2 separate regions of the Homo sapiens genome follow, and region 1 is linked to region 2. Evidence: promoter capture Hi-C in 16 types of primary human blood cells and fetal thymus (Javierre and others, 2016). All regions are on one chromosome and are shown on one strand. The core of a region is centred on a gene start or on the middle of the fragment in contact, and the rest is flanking DNA. Distances in the headings are between cores, read along the strand shown.

What was found. Contacts are between HindIII fragments. The CHiCAGO score rates a contact against its expected background, and 5 or more counts as called.
Region 1: a contact is called between the fragment with the promoter of MCUR1 here and a fragment that was not itself captured in region 2, in 1 of 17 cell types (total B cells). The highest score is 5.5, in total B cells.

Annotation. Positions count from the first base shown.
Region 1 is chr6:13,812,326-13,815,921 of GRCh38, forward strand. It overlaps MCUR1 (mitochondrial calcium uniporter regulator 1), which reads right to left and starts at 2,232. Exons shown (of 9, transcript NM_001031713.4): 1 at 1,690-2,232. The coding sequence starts at 2,104. LOC107986571 (a long non-coding RNA gene) reads left to right here and starts at 1,485. Exons shown (of 2, transcript XR_001743986.3): 1 at 1,485-1,764. RefSeq lists silencers at 1,420-2,089, 2,170-2,439 and an enhancer at 2,600-2,699. The HindIII fragment of the contact is 5,544 bases long and covers 1-3,596 here.
Region 2 is chr6:15,651,368-15,654,712 of GRCh38, forward strand. It overlaps DTNBP1 (dystrobrevin binding protein 1), which reads right to left. Exons shown (of 10, transcript NM_032122.5): 2 at 720-773. Among named protein-coding and RNA genes, the nearest start is that of DTNBP1, 10 kb to the right of the region's middle. The HindIII fragment of the contact is 1,077 bases long and covers 713-1,789 here.

The DNA of each region.
Region 1 (3,596 bases), core at 982-3,481, 1.8 Mb before region 2:
TTCCTTAACTGTGTCTCTGCTCTCTTCTGTTTTTATGCATCCATACTCATTTTTTATGATGACTGAAGAATGAGATAGCTGACACTAAAACAACAGTACCACCTTACCGATTGGTCAGCAAATCCGTGAGAAAGAACACTCTCTTTTTGCCCTATACTCTTGCATTGAGAGAAAAACAAATTGGAAATTACTAGCTTGTCAGAAAAAGCGCAACAAAAGGCAAAATACAGAATAAAGACCAAACTCATCTCCGACTCCTAATTACTGAAGGACAGTGACACCGAGTTCACTACTCATTCCCCACTCTCTGTATATAAAGTTTCCTTCACTTTATTGCTCTACTAATCAGTTTTTACCCCAGCCAATGATATTCTTAAATTATAGATATGGTCAACATTTAGTGGGCCTATCTGTTGAAGAAAATATGAAAAATGTGTAGTTAGTGATGGCTACTAATGAATATGTATAGACTGCCCAAAGTGATAATTTTGCCAAGTCTGTTGATTATCAGAAATGATTTTTTTCTTTAATCAACAATATGCTATCTAATAAATTGATTCTATTTACTTTCCTCATCTCCAGGGCAGTGATCTCTCTCACCTCCTTTAAATAGTCATGAGCCCCACAACTACCTTTCAGCCCAGGACAGAGGGGCACACACGACAGTGGTCTATGAGACTATAATACATATTTTTACTCTACCTTTTCTACATTTAGATGCGCAAATACCATTGTGTTCAGATTGCCTCTAGTATTCAGTACGGTAACATGCTGTTCAGGTTTGTAGCCTAGGAGCACTAGCCTCTACCTGATAGTCTAGGTGTGTAGTAGGCTGTAGCATCCAGGTTTGTGTAAGCACACTCTACAATATTCACACAAGGAAGAAGTCGCCTAATGACTCATTTCTCAGTAGGCGACTGTCCTGAAGAGATGCATGACTCTAATTAAATGCTACCTTCTCAATGAAATCGATTCTGATCACCCTATTTAAATTCACAACTGGAGACCCATTCCACTTCCCAAGCCTTATCCTATTTTTCTATACCAGGCATCGAATTACGAATATATAAAAATTATTTGTATATATAAATTATATATACATCAATTATGCATACGTATATCCACACACACATATTTACTGCGTCTGCTCTGCTAGAATTAAGCTCCAGAGGGAAGATTTTGTGGACTGATATATCTCACACATCTAGAAAAGCGCCAGGGACAGGGCAGACGCTAGGACTCCACGAATTAATGATTCCATCAGAATTTGAAATCAAACTGTAAAGCAATCCCTTCATTTCCCAGAGCTTTGCTGCTCAAACATACACACCCCTTCCCCTTGAACGCCCAACAGGCTGGGCGCTGCCAAACAGAACTCCTGGAAGGCGGCGCCCAAAAGCAGACCCTAGGAGTGGGCGGGCACCAACTCCCCGCCCCAGCACGCACCTCCCTCCAACTTTAGCGCCCGGGATTCCCAGGAATTCGTCTCTTCTGGGCTAAGCCCCGCCACCGCGGCCGAGCAGGGCGGGCCCGGACCTTCGACCCACGCTCCGGGCAGATGCCGGTGGCCTTGGAGGACCCGCCCTCCGGCCTGCCGGGCCTTTCCTCGGGGAGGCTGTAGCTGAGATCCCCGCCCCGCCGTCCAACCCCGCGAGACGAGCCCCCTCTCCTCTCCCGCCCGGGCCTCACCTCTCCTGCAGGAAACGAGTGCAGGCGCCGGGCCGTGGTACTGGGGAAGGGCGCCGGCGGCAGCGGCGACGCCCGGTGAGCACCTCCACGCGCTGCTGCGCCCGGCCGGGGGTGCGGCATACCCGAGGCGCGAGCGCTCCCAGTCCCCGAGCTGCCGGCGCGGGGCTGCGGCGGCCAAGCGCGGGGAGGGCACTAGCAGGAGGAGGAGCAGCGGTGAGGCACGTGACACGCCGCCGCGGGCCGCCGGGGCGCGAGGGCGCAGCGCCCCCAGACCGTCGGAGAGCGCAGAGAGGCAGCGGCGTGCTGAGGTTTCGCTGCCGCCCGGTCTTCCGCTGAGGCCCACGGGCAAGAAGAGAAGCCGCTGGCGGCCGGGCAGGCGCTGGGTCCTCTGGCCGCCGACCGAGCCGCAGTCCATCCCCGAGCAGTTCACTGGCCCGGGCGCGCGCTCATGCCTCTCGCTTTTGGCGCCGGCCACGCGCGGTCCAGGCCCAGAGTCCGACAGCGGGAGCGAGCGTGGGCCACAGCGCAGGACCGCCCTTTCCTGCCGGGCGCGCGGGCGGGGCTCGGGACGCGCGCCGGGGGTGGGGTGGGGCGGGGCGGCAGGAGCCCGCCGTGGCGCTCCGAGATGCGGGGACCGTGCGAGCCCCCACCCCATTCGCTAGGCGACGGCGGCGACCGGGAGGAGCCTGCGGGCACTCCGGAACTGGAAGGAGCTTGTTGCTGTCACGATTTGCATTTTCACTGCACTGCTGTCCTTAAAAAGGAATTACCCCGGTGCCCTTCAGAGTCCTGTGAAAAGTCTCAGACCGACAGGCTGCCCTAGATTTCACTGATTATCCTAAGTCCCCAAACATGTGGTTCTGGGGAGCATTTTAAGGAATTATTAGCAGGGCCCAGGGAAAGGCCCTCACATAATACATTCAAAACTAAATTTTCAGAGTTTTTGTTTCCAGATTAGAGCACCAAAAACATGGGAAGGTAGCAATCTGGGAACTTAAAACGTGGGGCATGAATGTTAAAATGAGACCTGTCGGGTATATTTGAAACTGGTAATGTTTAGTTTCGTGGACTTTTTGAAGGCCTGTTACACCATTCACAGATAACTGGTCCCTTATGTGAATTTGGAAGATGTTAGTTGAATAAATAAATGAAATGCATAAGGCACCAAGCTAGGAGATTTTATTAAAAATAAAAAACCGCAAAACAAATTGTTCTTATCCTCCAGAAGCTGTTTTCCTATACAGCCATATGTGTACACATACGTGATGGAAGAATGTGTTATGAGCCATGAGAGATGTACAAAGTGCTGGGAAGAGAGGAGCGTGCATATGGATGTGCAAGATAAGTGTCTATCAAAATTTGAAGAACTGAAAAACAGGATTCAAGTCATAGGTTGGTGCAAAAGTAGTTGCGGCTTTTGCCATTGCAAGTAATGGCAAAAACCGCAATTACTTTTGCACCAACCTAAGACACTTTTGTAAAAGGAGTATACATTTATAAAATTGGTAGAAAAAGCAGTTTAGCAATGAGTATCAACAAAAATTTGTAAACTTTTCTCAAGTCACCTAACTAAAAATGGGGATAATGGGAATAATCCAAAATATTAAATATCTACTAGGTTTGACTATACAAACTTGTCATTTTTATGGGTCAAAATGCTTAATATTGGTAATTTCACATATGCACAAAAGATAGTCATTGTATCATAATTTGTGATTGTGAAAAAATGGGAAAATAGTGCACAACATTAGAGGAACGATTAAACTGTGGCACAAACTTTAATGTTAGTCCTTTGTAATTTTTAAAAATTGAGGTATAATTTGCATACAGTAAATTCCACAGACTTAGGTGACATTTAGCAGTTGATAAATGTCATTTAGCAACTTGATGACATTTAGCAGTTGTAT
Region 2 (3,345 bases), core at 1-2,500:
CCAAAAGAAACACTTATTAAAACTGTTCTTGATTTAGCCAACTGAAAAAAAAAAAAAGGTACATACAAGAATTTTGACATTGTCAATTGTAATATATTTTAAAATCACTAATGACAATTATTAAACTTTTAGAGAAATGTGTTTTATTTCAGAGTTAATGTACTGTATGTAACACACTATCAACCATCATTTTGCCCCAGAGATTCTCTTCAGCATACAATAAATTATTTAATATAATGTTGGATAAGAACAAATATGTAAGATCACAGTTCATTTCTAGGTTGAAAATGAAATCTGGTCACATGCTTTACTTTATTAAAAAAATGGACAAACAGCACAATCCTGGTGTTTTCATACAAAACAGGTAACATAGCTGAAGAGGCTCATTTGCCAAGTAGTATTTCATCATTAATTTGCTTTTCAATAATTCAGGACTTTTACTTTTGCTCTTATACAAATTAAAAATGACTAATTGTGATCAAATAATACTCATTGACTGTCAGAGTAAAACAATTATACTTCACCATTTTTTCAACCATTTCACGATTTTATTAGAAAATTTTCCTGTTACAAAATTTAGAAAGAATCGATAAATTATTTTGTAGTCAGATGCACTCAACAAATCTAAGGTTCATTAATATAACTACACAATTGTGAATACACCAAAAGTTGTATGAAATTTAAGTCACAGTTAAGTTAAAATCTTAGCACAAGCTTACCTGGGTTTGCTTTTCACTTTTGCTTCTCTTGACTTGTCACTTAAAGTCTTCAGCCTATAATTCAATATAAAATATAATATTTTTACAAGTCAAGAGATTATTATTATTTTTTTGAGACAGGGTCTCACTCTGTCGTCCAGGCTGGAGTGCAGTGACATGTACATTACTCACTGCAGCCTCAATCCTGGGCCCAAGTGATCCTCCCACCTCATCCTCCTGAGTAGCTGGGACTATAGTCACCCGCCACCACGCCTGGGTAATTTCTTTTTTTATTTAGTGGAGACGGAGTCTTGCTATGTTGCCCAAGCTGGTCTCATACCCCATGCCTCAAATGATCCTCCTGCCTCAGCCTCCCAAAATGCTGGGATTACAGGCATGAGCCACCCCACCCAGCCCAGAGATTTTTCAACCACAAATTTTCACATGTTAAAATTTTAGGTCAGATAAGCTACTTTTTTTTTTTTAAGCAAGAATTAAGTACCTCAAAAGACAACAAATATTTGAGTGTTTACTATATGTTAGATACTACAAACGGAAAATCTGTAGCAAATTTTTTTTTAAGAGATGGTCTCACTCTGTTGCCCAGGCTAGAGTATAGTGGTGCGATTGTAGCTTACTGTAACCTCAAACTCTTGGGCTCAAGCAATCTTCCCACCTCAGCCTCCTGGGTAACAAGGATGACAGGTATGTGCCACCATGCCCAGCTATTTGTTTCACTTTTATTTTGGTCTCACTATGTTGCCCAGTCTGGTCTCTATCTCCTGGCCTCAAGTGATCTTCCCACCTCAGCCTCCCCATAGAGCTGGGATTATAGGTGTGTGCTACCACGCCAGGCCTTATTTTCATATTCTTACTTACCCCAAGCCCCTTTTTTAGAAACCAAGATTCCTAAATGTGATCAGACCACAAAAACATAATTTATCTGGCATCTTTAGAAAAAGTAATGTTCCACATAGGAGAAATCGATAGGTAACAAAGATATCTAAGCAGCACACTTCATTAAGTAGATGCTACCCAGGCCTTCAAATCTCTTTAAGCATCCACAGTATTTGAAATTTTAGTTGAGAAAAAGCTTTTTAAAATATATTACAAACTTCTTTCATTAAAGAGGATTTTGTATATCTCATTTAACATTTTGTGATGACTCAGGATCAGTATTAAGAATATCATTGACTACATTTTGCAGCAAAACAGTACTCTCCCCTGATACTTCTGAGCTAGAAATGCATCTTCATCTATTAACCTGAAACCAATCTATGGTAGTTTTGTGTTTGTTTGGGCTCTTATGTCTACCTTTCCTAAATTTTCTTTCTCTACCATTGGTCACCTGGATGTCAGCTCTCACTCACTGCTTCTGCCAGCTATTTAATTCTAGCAGTCTCCTCCCCTCTACTTGCTGCTTTTAAATTATTGCACTGGAAAACAGATAAATGGGCTAGAGCTGCATATATAGAATTAACAGACTCTTTTAATGTAAAATATGATGTTCATAAACTGTACAATTTATTTTCACTTCACTGGCCCAGTTTTACTTTATTTTGGCTGTGGACTCTGTTACAGATAACTGAGGTTGCCAATAAGTGAGTGCTACAGTATGCAGTAATATCACATAAAATGAGATATCATGTACACATTCTTCTCAATCACTTCAACAAGTACTCATTTGTAAATAGAAACTGAAAATATAGGCCACAGTACTACTGCTAGCCCCTACAAAGTCTTTGTAAAAACAGAAATAGCTGCTCCTTCCTCCAGACACTTTACTGCCATCAGCCAGAAACTGTCCTAATACACAAGTTGACTCTTGCATGAATGCCTCAACTAATGCATGGTACAGTATACAATCTGCACAACTATGCATGCTGGTTCTGAAACAGGATTCCATCTTTTCTGTCTATAACGTCTGATTAAGCACCATATGGGGACTTCTGATAAACTGCATTTTTTTAAAACCAAATTAGAATGCCAATGTCATACAAAGAGTTTCATATTACTCTATGATCTTTTTCAAAAAATAAAATATTGACAAGATCAATTCCTCTGCAATATTCAAAAGATTCAGCAATCTCTTTAATACAAAAGTAATTAGTATACCTCTCTAGATAAGTCTAGGAAATTGTGTAAAAGTCTAATATAAATTTCTCAGTTTATCCTGGAAACTAGTAAATCTGGTTTAAACCAAGATTAAGCAAAACCTAGGGAAAACAATTTTTATGGCCATGCTCTACCATTTCCACTATAAAGTTTGATCAAAATACTTAGTTGGAACATCTCAGGCAAAATTATCCTAGTTATATACAGCAGTGCCTCATACTCAAAATGATTCTCGCATTATTTTTAGTGATTCAGGAGAATTCTATACAGCTGAGTGTGAAAGGGAATTCCTAAGATCCTCTTTGGACTACTCTAATTATATGATCCAGCAAATCTCTAAGTTGGTATTTCAACTATTTATTTCTAAAACAAACTTTTACTTTCTTAATTGTAATATGCCAAGTTTGGAATTCTCTTCTCTGCCCCCCTACCCCATCTCCTCCCCGCCACCGACAAAAAGAAAAAACCGGTTTGAAATGAAAGGGAAAAAAGGAGTGTTACAGGGAACAGAAAGTAAAATTGTTGGAAGATT